Regions from separate parts of the Homo sapiens genome. Here region 2 is linked to region 1. Evidence: promoter capture Hi-C in 16 types of primary human blood cells and fetal thymus (Javierre and others, 2016). All regions are on one chromosome and are shown on one strand. Each heading gives the region's core, a stretch centred on a gene start or on the middle of the fragment in contact. The rest is flanking DNA. Distances are from core to core; before and after follow the strand shown. Region 1 holds the start of MCAM (melanoma cell adhesion molecule). Region 2 holds the start of ABCG4 (ATP binding cassette subfamily G member 4).

Evidence for each region. Contacts are between HindIII fragments. The CHiCAGO score rates a contact against its expected background, and 5 or more counts as called.
Region 2: the fragment with the promoter of ABCG4 here is called in contact with the fragment with the promoter of MCAM in region 1 in 10 of 17 cell types (endothelial precursors, neutrophils, total CD4 T cells and 7 more); the score reaches 9.4 in endothelial precursors.

What each region holds. Positions count from the first base shown.
Region 1 is chr11:119,315,377-119,320,433 of GRCh38, forward strand. MCAM (melanoma cell adhesion molecule) reads right to left here and starts at 1,754. Exons shown (of 16, transcript NM_006500.3): 1 at 1,659-1,754. The coding sequence starts at 1,725. RefSeq lists enhancers at 1-440, 3,334-3,383 and a silencer at 2,033-2,092. The HindIII fragment of the contact is 17,882 bases long and covers 1-5,057 here.
Region 2 is chr11:119,146,394-119,151,450 of GRCh38, forward strand. ABCG4 (ATP binding cassette subfamily G member 4) reads left to right here and starts at 2,659. Exons shown (of 15, transcript NM_022169.5): 1 at 2,659-2,970; 2 at 3,561-3,810. The coding sequence starts at 3,573. RefSeq lists an enhancer at 2,041-2,100 and a silencer at 2,758-2,837. The HindIII fragment of the contact is 14,272 bases long and covers 1-5,057 here.

The DNA.
Region 1 (5,057 bases), core at 504-3,003:
GCCCTGTCCTCTGAACGCTCTACCCCCACCCCGACCCGCGCCCCACCTGGGCCAGCCCTCTCCCCGTCCAGGAGATCCCAGGTCCTTGGAGCCAAGCAGAGATTGAGCAGAGACTGAGCACCGAACAGCTCCAGCTGAGGCTGGTAGAGGGGCAGAAAGGGGCAACCTAGGCTCGGGGCCAAGAGGAAGGCCCCTTTCCTTCCAGGCCCCCTCCTCTCCGGGTGAGCTCAGAGTGTGGGAATGCAAAGCATGTGCCAGGCTGGGGCACACAGGCCCTTTTGTGTCACCACCGCCAGGGGAAGACACCACTGCTCTATCCTCTGCCCTCCAAAATCCCTGCCCTCACTCCCCAGCGGGCTAACTCTGGCGGAAGTTCCGGTCTCATGCTCCCTCAGCAGCACCTCCATGAACACTCCGCACACACCCGCGGACCCCACCCTAGGTAGCTGGTAAGGATGGAGAGGTCAGAGTCTCCCCCAGGGGTCAGGGCAAGGGCCAGGCAGTGGGCAGGAGTGACGTCAGTGGTGCCAGCGTGCTGCCAGCCCTGTGAGGAGGTGATGTCACTCGACACCATCTGCCTGGGCTCTGGGATGCCTGGGTTGTTACCTTGGCTCTCGGACAAGGAGGGCAGGTGGAAGGTGGGGTCTCCAACCCAGAGCCTCAGACCCCTGACTCCTCCCAGAGCTAGAAGAGCAGGGCAGGGTGGAGCTGGACCGGCTGCAACTGTGGAGCCCGATTTAGCCCTTTCCCCAGAAATAAAGTCAGCCTGGGAGGCAGTAGCCTGGAATACCCCAGGGACATGGTTGGCACTGGGCATGAGGCCAGCGAGCTGGGTATTGCCTAGCCCTCCCCTTCCCCAGCCGGACAGCGGCTGGGACGGCGGAATGGGAGCCAAGAGAAACACGCGACACCGCTGCGGGCCATACAAGGGCAGCGTGGACCCGAGAGCGCCCTGCTACCAGGCGGATCCGGAGAAACGCTCCGAGGTGCCCGGGCGCACTTCCCACCTGAATGTGGTCCCCAAAATAAGCCAGCGGGCGCTTCCAGTATGGGAATCCTCCATCCCTCATCTCTGTCCCCTATGATCCCATCACTCGGGGAGGCGCGAGGCGACCCACACCGCCCCGCAACCCCTGCCAACGCCCAGCTCGGGCGGGAGCCGCCGAACCTCCCGCTCTCGCTCACCTCCAGCCTGGCGTGATGCCCAGGCAGAAGGGGGAAGGGGTGGGTCGGCGCACCCCCTCCAGCGAAGGAAGCTGCCTTTTCCAGCAACAGGCGGGCGCGGAATTCAGGCTTTGAGGATGCGCCCCAGCTGCGCCTCCTGCCCGGCTTCAATTGCGGGCCCCCAGAGTGAGCACCTCAGGGACCACCCACCCCCCAGCACCCCGAAAGGCTGAGCTCCACCCCTTCTCGTTCCCAGAAGCAGCCTCCTCCCCGCCTTCCGAGTGCTGCTCCCGGGATACTCTAGAATCCCGGCTGCAAACTGGCTGCAAAGAAGAGTTGCTCGCGCGCAAGGCGCCCGGGGATCGGGGACCCAGGGAGGAGGCTCGTCCTCCCAGACGCAACGCCCCGACCCCGCCGCGCCGCTGGCTCTGCTCCCTGGCACGCTCCACCGCAGACCCCTAGCCGGGGCGCGGCCCCCCTGCGAGCGAACTCACCCGCGACGCGAGGACAGCAGCAGCAGGCGGCGAGCAAGAAGGCGCAGACCAGCCTGGGAAGCCCCATGCTTCCCGGCCGGAGGGCGAGAGCCAAGTGAGCAGCTCGAGGCTGCCGGGGGCTGACGTCAGGGGGGCGGGGGAGGGGGCCCGGAGCGCCCGGGCCCGCCCCGCCCCGCGCAGCCCCCAGCCCCCGCCCCGCGCGCCGCAGCCCTAGGGGGCGGGCCCCGGCGCCGCCAGCCCGGGAGCTGCGCCTAGGAGCGCTGCCGGAGGTAGGCCAGAGCCGGACTCCCAGGCTCCTGGCTTGGGAAGGCTGAGGGGGTAGTGACAGGTGTCTCGGGGTCTGACTGGCCGAGGTGGCAGCGAGGAGAAGCTGTCCCGGATGCCCGGAGTCGCCCCGGGTCGAAGCCAGCCAGGCTCACCGCTGCTCAGCCCCTGCCAGCCAATGTAGCCCCTAGGGGACCTCCTGGGGGAGGAGCAGTAGCGGACCTGGTCCTCGGTGTCCCCAAGGGGCCTCCCACTTGGGCTCCCCTCCCTTGCCACAGAGAATTCAGGCCGGCCTCTATCGCTTCCCAGAACGATTGCACCACTGCCGCTGCCGCCGGCCTGACACTGCCTCAGCCTCAGTGCTGGCAGCTTTGGGAGAAGAACCCTGCGCCAGTCCCACAGACCCAGAAGTACCTGTATGGGGAGTGCAGACGATGCCTTCTGGGCTGTCCCTTCAAACGCAAGCTCCTGCAAGTCTAGCCTTTGACCAGAGAAAGGAAGGAGGGGGCTGAATTCGCAGGCCCAAGGTGTTCACACTTGTCCAGACCTGGGCCTTGAGAATCATGTTTCTTCCCTCTTCACTCTGGAGCCTACCCTGGAACTCAGTTTCCCCTCACCTAAGAGAAAGAAACAGGGAGAAGAAAGAGTTAATGGGCGAGGGTCCCCAGCCTGACCCTGCAAACCTGTTGCTGTTCCTGATGATTGAAAGGATCCCGGCAGCGCTGATCTTCCCCCACCCCATGTCTTCCCCAGCCCTATTGATTGTGGGTCCATAGCTGAGGGAAGAATCAAATCAGACCTGCTTGGGTGGGGAGCTCTGCAGCTCCCCTTCTCCCAAAACGCCGGCTTCTCCCTGGGTCTTCTGGCCTCTTGAACTAAGGCTCTAGGGAGGGGGAGGTGCTCTTGCCTCACTCTGACCCCAGCAGCCTGGCCTCAGAAAAGGGGTCCACATCTGCTGGCGCGCCTCCACCAGGGAGTGCCAAATAGGGGCCTGGATTTGGGTAGAGGTCTGTTGCCCAGCGGGGCCACCCCTTTGCTCGCTGGGGGAGGTGGAGGGTGAGCCAGCAAACCCTGGAGATGGCCAGGTGACTTGAGAGCATGCTCCGGGGTGGCGTTTTGATGACGCAGAGATGACTGGAAAACCACACCAGGCTTGTCTTTCAGAGCCTTCTCGACCCCTCCTCCAATGCCATTAGTCTCCAGCCAGAGGCTGTGCAGAGCCCAGGCCCACCGGGCCAGGGGCCTGGAGCCTGGAGCCTGCAGGGAGAACAAGAGGAGGACGCTGGCTCGCCCTCCAGAGTGAATGTATGGACTGGCCCCAGGCCCAGAGCTGACTAGATGAGAATGTTTTGTCTGCTGGGCTGGAGTGGGAATGGCTGAAGGATGCCGTTTGCCCTGGCAGGCCCGGCTGGGCATGGAGCTGGCTTCCCTGCCCAACCCCCTTCCTTCACTTAACACCATTAACTAATCATTCGCCTCTCTGGCCTGAAAACAAAGCCAGCTAACCACCAAGGACAGTCAGTTCTGAATTCTTCTTCCGCTGGAGGAGAGTGAAGCCAGGTGGGGGTGGAGGATTTGTCTCTGCGGTGAAAGGGAAATGAGGTCAGAGCCTAGAGCCCAGGGTGACGTCCCTTCGCATTGCCCCACCAAACAAGCACAGAAGACTGTCCTTTAAGGAAGCCAGTAGCCTGGGGCTGTCTAGGCTGCTCGGAAGTGGGTCATAGCCTCAGGGGACAGATAGCTTTGGGATGGTTTCATGAGGTGGGCACTTTGGGATTCCAAACTAAAGACGGGTCAGGACCTCGGAAAGGACGCAGGAGTGGAGGCAGGGAGCAGGGTGGAGGGAGCGGAAGGTGAAGGGGATCAGCCCTCAGCTCTTCTTAGAGGCCAGAGGCTAGTGCTCCGGCAGCCCCAGGGGAGAGAAGGTGGCTGCGGGACTTCCAGCAGGACAGGAGTGACAGCCAGCAGAAGGGAGTTGGAGGAGGAGGCCACGGCCGTCTACCCTGCAGGGACCCAGCACCTGGACTGGGTTGGAAGAGCCTGGCTCAGATGTAGGCCAGGGCCAGAAGAGGCCCTGGGGGCAGAGTCCTAATTCTTCTTTTTTCCCTCGTTGGGTTGCAGGCAAGAAGGCTGCTTTCCTCCAGCCCCATGGTGGACCTGGGCCCCTCACACATGAGGGGACCCTCCTGCGCATAATGCCCTCTGCGTGTCTCTGGTATAGGTCTGACCACAGGTGGAGAAACTGAGGCCAGGTGGGGTGGGGGTCCTGGTTGGGCTCCTCAGCCACAGTCTCCTGGATGGGTGGAGCTTTCAGCTCATTGTAAGGAGAAGTGGAACCCTGGGGAGTTGGAGGTAAAAAGACAAGGATGGACCTGTCCCCAGAGGCCATGAAGGGGCAAGACTGGAACCCAAGTGTCCTCTCTCAGCTCCAGCAAAGGGAACTTAGCGACTTCTGACCCACCCTTCTGGATCCAGGGGCCTTGACCAGGATGTGAGGATATGAGAAGGGTGGGTCAGAAGTAGCTCGAGGAAGGAAGCTGATAAAGAGGTGTTTGCAGCTGCTGTGAGGACATGGGGTGGGAGTCCCAACAATCTTGGCAGTTACCGAGACTGGGGAACCCCCTGGCCAGGCCAGATAATAGGATCCGGCCTGGGTCTTTGGAGGGGGTGCGGAAGTTGGAGAATTTTTCCAGAATGTGGGTGTGAGTAGGAGAAGATTATACTGAAGGAGTGAAAACAGGGTGGAAAAGGGTAGGGGGCAGGAAACCGGATACTGTACTGGGGGGTGGATGGAAGATGTGGGGGAAGAGATTGAATCGGGGGAAGCAGCCCTGCTCCCGCCGGATGCTGTCTCACCCATGTCCTTCGCACCTGACCCAGGGCAGGAGGAAGGAGGCACAGCCGGGATGGAGGTGCACCCCACACCACCATGGGAGAGAGGGAGGGTGGCCTTCTGCGGGATGGGAGGGGCTATTTTTAAACTTGGAAAAACCGTGAGTTCATCTCCATTCTGGAGGCTGCAAAGGCCCCATTGTACAGGGGTCTAGAGAGGGGGAGCGGGGGGAGGGGGCGACGGGCACAATGGCGAGGATTATGTTGGAGCAGGCAGGGGGGTGGAGGGCGGAGAGCGGGGGA
Region 2 (5,057 bases), core at 1,409-3,908, 170 kb before region 1:
TGAGCTTCCCAAAGTGCTGGGATTACAGGCATGAGCCACCACACCCAGTTTTGACTGCAATTTCTGTGTCCAAGTTCTAGGAATGTAGTGGAGAAAGACTGGCCTAGCCCCTTACTCAGAGATCAACCATATCTCCATGCTATGTGCCTAGCAGGTAGTAGACATTCAATAAATGTAGTTTCCCCTCGTTTGCTAAGGAAAGGAAGATTCATCTGGGGGAAGGAAATGAGCCTGAACCGTGGTGTGACCTGGGAAGTAAGAATGTATGGTCTATGCAATGGCATGATTATGGCTCACTGCAGCCTTATCATCCCAGGCTCAAGTGATCCTCCTGCCTCAGCCTCCCGAGTAGCCGGGACTACAGGCACACACCACCACGTCTGGCTTATTTATTTATTTAATTTTATTTTTTGAGACAGAGTCTTGCTCTGTCGCCCAGGCTGGAGTGCAGTGGCACGATCTTGGCTCACTACAACCTCCGCCTCCCAGGTTCAAGTGATTCTTGTGCCCTAGCCTCCAAAGTATTATAGGCATGAGCCACCATGCCCAGCTAATTTTTGTAATATTAGTAGAGATGGGGTCTCGCCATCTTGGCCAGGCTGGTCTCGAACTCCTGACCTAAAGTGATCCACCCACCTTGGCATCCCAAAGTGCTGGGATTACAGGTGTGAGCCACCATGCCTGGCCTATAGTCTACTCTTGAGAATAAAAAATCTTAATCTGCTGAGTGTGGTGGCTCATGCCTGTAATCACAGCACTTTGGGAGGCTGAGGCGGGAGGATCACTTGAGGTCAGGAATTCGAGACCAGCCTGGTCAACATGGTGAAACCCCATCTCTACAAAAAATACAAAAATTAGCCGGGTGTGGTGGTGTGTGCCTGTAGTTCCAGCTACTCAGGAGGCCGAGGCAGGAGAATCGTTTCAACCTGGGAGGCAGAGGCTGCAGTGAGCTGAGATCTCACCACTGCTCTCCAGCCTGGGTGACAGAACGAGACTATATCAGAAAGAAAGAAAGAAGCAAAGAAAGAGAGAAAGAGAGAGAGAGAAAGAAAGAAAGAGAAAGAAAGAAAGGAAAGAAAGAAAGAAAGAAAGAAAGAAAGAAAGAAAGAAAGAAAGAAAGAAAGAAAGAAAGTTGTGTGCCAAAGAATAAAGCTGGGTGGCATTAAGACATGGAGGTTATCTCAGGAGGATGAAGAGCCTGTCTAGAAAATAGAGGGAGACAGTCCATTTGGGAATAAGGTTCTGAGAGGCCCAATTAGCAGGGTAAAATCAGGGACTTTGGGATTCAAGCCCTGCTTTGCCACCAACTATTGCTTAACCTCCCTATGCCTCAGTTTTTCATCTCTAAAGGGGGGTTGTAAAACCTGTCGCATAGGGATATTGTGAAGATTAAATAACATAATGCCTGGTACAAAGTAGTTAATAAATGCAACTGTTGGGGGATGGGGAGGTCTATAGTAGCTGATGAGAAGTTGACTTGGAGAATGGAGGGTCCATCTGGAGAACAGGAGGTTGGTCCTGAGGAATGGTGGTGATGTGGGGCATGGAGTTGGGGGAAGATAGGAAAGACTGGATCCAAACCCCACACAAACCTCAGAGTAACAGGGCGGGGCCTAGAGAAATCCTCCAGGGATCGCCAGCTTTTAGGGCTGTGGAGAGGTGGTTGGGAGGGGGGCCAGCAGGGGAGAGGTTTGACTGCTAGTAACCCTCAACTGCTGCAGTAAGGAGAAGCCTCAGCGGTGGCAGTCACACCAGCAGCCTCAGAGCCTTCCCTCCCCATCGTCTCTGCTGTGTGACAGGTGGGAACTTAAAAGCTCAGATCACGTGTCTTGGCTAGCTAACCTACTTACCCCTTGAAGACATAGTGGCTGGGACAGGCAAGGGCCAAGAGGAATTGGCTGAGAAAGGGGCAGAGCAGGGGAAAGCCCCAAGTGTGTTCTGGGGACCTACATTTGAAGGCTTTGGGGGCAAGGGAGAGAATGTGCAGGTGCATGAGATGCCCAGGGCATGTCTGCGAGCCCTGTGCATGCCCTGGCACACAGGTCCCTCCAGGATATGGCATGTGCCTGTCTTGAAGGCCTGTATCTGGCTAGGTGACTACAGTCGGAGCAGGCTGAGCACTGGGTTCCAGTTTAACTCTGGAGCTACTGCAGGCTCTCCCAAAGCTGCTGCCATTTTCCCTTCTTTATTAGTGTCCTAACTCAGAGAAAGTGTGAATGGGGAGACAGGAGGATGTTCCAATGTCCCAAGGCTCCTGCGTTTTTGAAAGCCTTTGCACCTCGTTTGGGGATTCCTGGAGGGAGGCCTGCGCTCATTCATGGGCTGGAACTGAGGGAAATTGTTGGGGGACTGGTATCGTGTGTGAAGACAGACTGACACCTTTACAATCCCTCCACTTTCCCCCACCCCCAACACCCTTGCCTAATCTGTCTTCCAGGGACTTGTCCCCACGGAGTGACTCCAGCTCTCCTTTCCTCACTGCCTCCAAGTCGGCCCTTTGCCATCAACCCCCAGTCCTGAGTTCACCCCTGCACCTCCTCCGGCCCCCGCGCCGCAAGCGCTGCTCTCTCCTTTGCCGTCCTCGCCCCCCGCGGGCTGCCGGGCGGCGCGGGCCCTTTAAGAACGGCGGGACCGGCGAGCAGTAGCTGGTAGGAGAGCGCAGTCGCCCCGCGGGCTCGGAGGACACAGCGTCCGGGACCAGGCTCTGGGAAGCGGGTGTGCACAGCCCAGCAGAGTCAGGGCGCGACCCCAACCGCCTCTCACCATCCTTGCCGTCTCCTCCGAGCCGAGGGCCGGCCCTCCTGCCTCGCCTGCCCCGCCCCGGCCCCGCCCCGGCCCGGGCCGCCGGGACCGGGAGCCGGGACGCGGGTGCCGCAGCCCGAGGCAGGTAAGGGGAGCCCCGGCTCTCCGTCCCCGGTCCGTGGCAGCGCTGAGCATCCCGGCCCCGCACCGGCCCGGGGGCGCGTCAAGGTGACTAGGCATGCGGGAGATGGGGCGGGGGCTTGAGCTGCCGTGGGGCGCTTAGTTTTGAGTCCGGGTGGTGCGCCTGGCTTTGGGGACAGCCCGGGGCACGCGGGCCCGGGGGTGCCGGCGGGAGGGGCCGGCCTGGGCGTCGCGCCAAGGGATGGGGAGTGGGACGCAGCCGGAGGCCTGAAGCCTCCTCCTCTCCGCCTTCCCCTGGTCCGCCCTGCACTCACCCTGCTACCCCGACCTCCTAGAGCGGGCAGCCTCTGCCGGCTGCCTCTTCTCCCCCGCCCCCTATTCCTTCAGTCCCCAGGGGCTGCTGGCCTGCGGGGTAAGGAGATTAGAGAAGCCGCCGGGAGGAAGGAGCGATTGAGGGCTTCAAGGGGACGGGCTGGGGTCAGGCTGGAGCTGGGCTGCCCGGGACTGAGCGTCTCCGTGCGGAGAGTGGGGGGCGGGGGCAGAGTGCGGGGCTAACAGTCGCGGATCTGCCCCGAGAAGGAGGTGGGCAGTGGGGGCGGGGGAAGCATTAGAACGCCAGGGAGCTTTGAGCCGGGCTCGGTGGTCTGCCCCAAACTGAGCAGGCCCTCCCCTTGCAGGTCGGCGGCGTGATGGCGGAGAAGGCGCTGGAGGCCGTGGGCTGTGGACTAGGGCCGGGGGCTGTGGCCATGGCCGTGACGCTGGAGGACGGGGCGGAACCCCCTGTGCTGACCACGCACCTGAAGAAGGTGGAGAACCACATCACTGAAGCCCAGCGCTTCTCCCACCTACCCAAGCGCTCAGCCGTGGACATCGAGTTCGTGGAGCTGTCCTATTCCGTGCGGGAGGGGCCCTGCTGGCGCAAAAGGGGTAGGGAACAGCCTGGTAGGGGGAGTCCGTGGGCCCTCTCTGAGTTGCCTCTCCAGAAGCATGAGGCCTGGGTGTCCCATGTTCGGAAAGTCCTGCACCAGTGGGCTCTGTGGAAACACTAAAATCTGGGCCCCAGCCCGTTGCTCACTGTGCACTCTTGGGGTGTCAGGATCTACGCTCCCCCACACCTGTGAGCACCATGGGATACTAGGTGCAATTGGTTATTGAAGCTGTATCTTCTAAAGAGATCCCGTGACCTCTGGTCCTTGAGTGGTCCTTGATGAGTTTTCCTTCTTTTGTTTATGGAGGATTCCTACCTGTGAGGGCTGGTATGAAAAAGTAGGGGGCTGTGTCTGCAGGGTTGAGCAATACCCTTGGACCTAATTATAAAGACGTTCTCATTCCTGTCATCTTATTCCATTCTTACCACAGTGCTCAGAAGCAGGGAGGGTGGCGGTTTGGCAGGATAGATGTCATCTCCATGTTACTAATAAGGAAACTGAGGCCCAGGGAAGTTGAGTAACTTGACCAATGTCACACAGCTAGTAAGTGGTAGAGCTGAGACCAGAAGCCCGGTTTCCCAGCTCTCCATGCATTGTTCCTTTCTCTCTCTTCCCTGTACAGCAGTCCCATCACTTCCCTCTTCCCGCCCATGAGGACAGGTTCCCCTGAACCCTGACTAGCCCCTGCAGCCCCTACCCTGAGCAGCTTTAGCTGCTAGTAGGGAAGCTGAGGCTGTTTCCCAGAGCCTGGGTGTGGGCCAGGGGTGGGGCTGGGACATTGTTCTCTGAGGTTCAACAAATAGGTTTGGGGTGCTTCAGAGCAGGGCTGAGCATGATCTGCCTCTGCACTCTCCAAACCCTCACTCCCATGAGTGACCAAAAGGTCACATGGCTGAACCAATGGAAACTGAGGCATCTGGGCTTCCTGCCCAGTGGGCCCTGTCCCTAAGCAACCTCTTTCGGTCCTGAGACCAGCTCTGGGCAAAATCATGAGGCAGTTGTTATTTCTTTAGCCCTCTCATTTCCTCATAATTTTAAGAAACTAAGATTTTTTTTTAAAATGTGTCTAGACGGGCCAGCTCTCCAGTTGCTTCCATGTGCCAGCCACAGATTGATATCCCTCACCTGGCCCTTCCCTCCTTTTGACCTTGCCAGCCTCATTCTGCTGTACTGGCCATTTTGCCATTTCTTTCATCCGTTGTCCCTTTCTCTGCCCCCTGCCCTCCCCTCGATGACTTCTGTTTT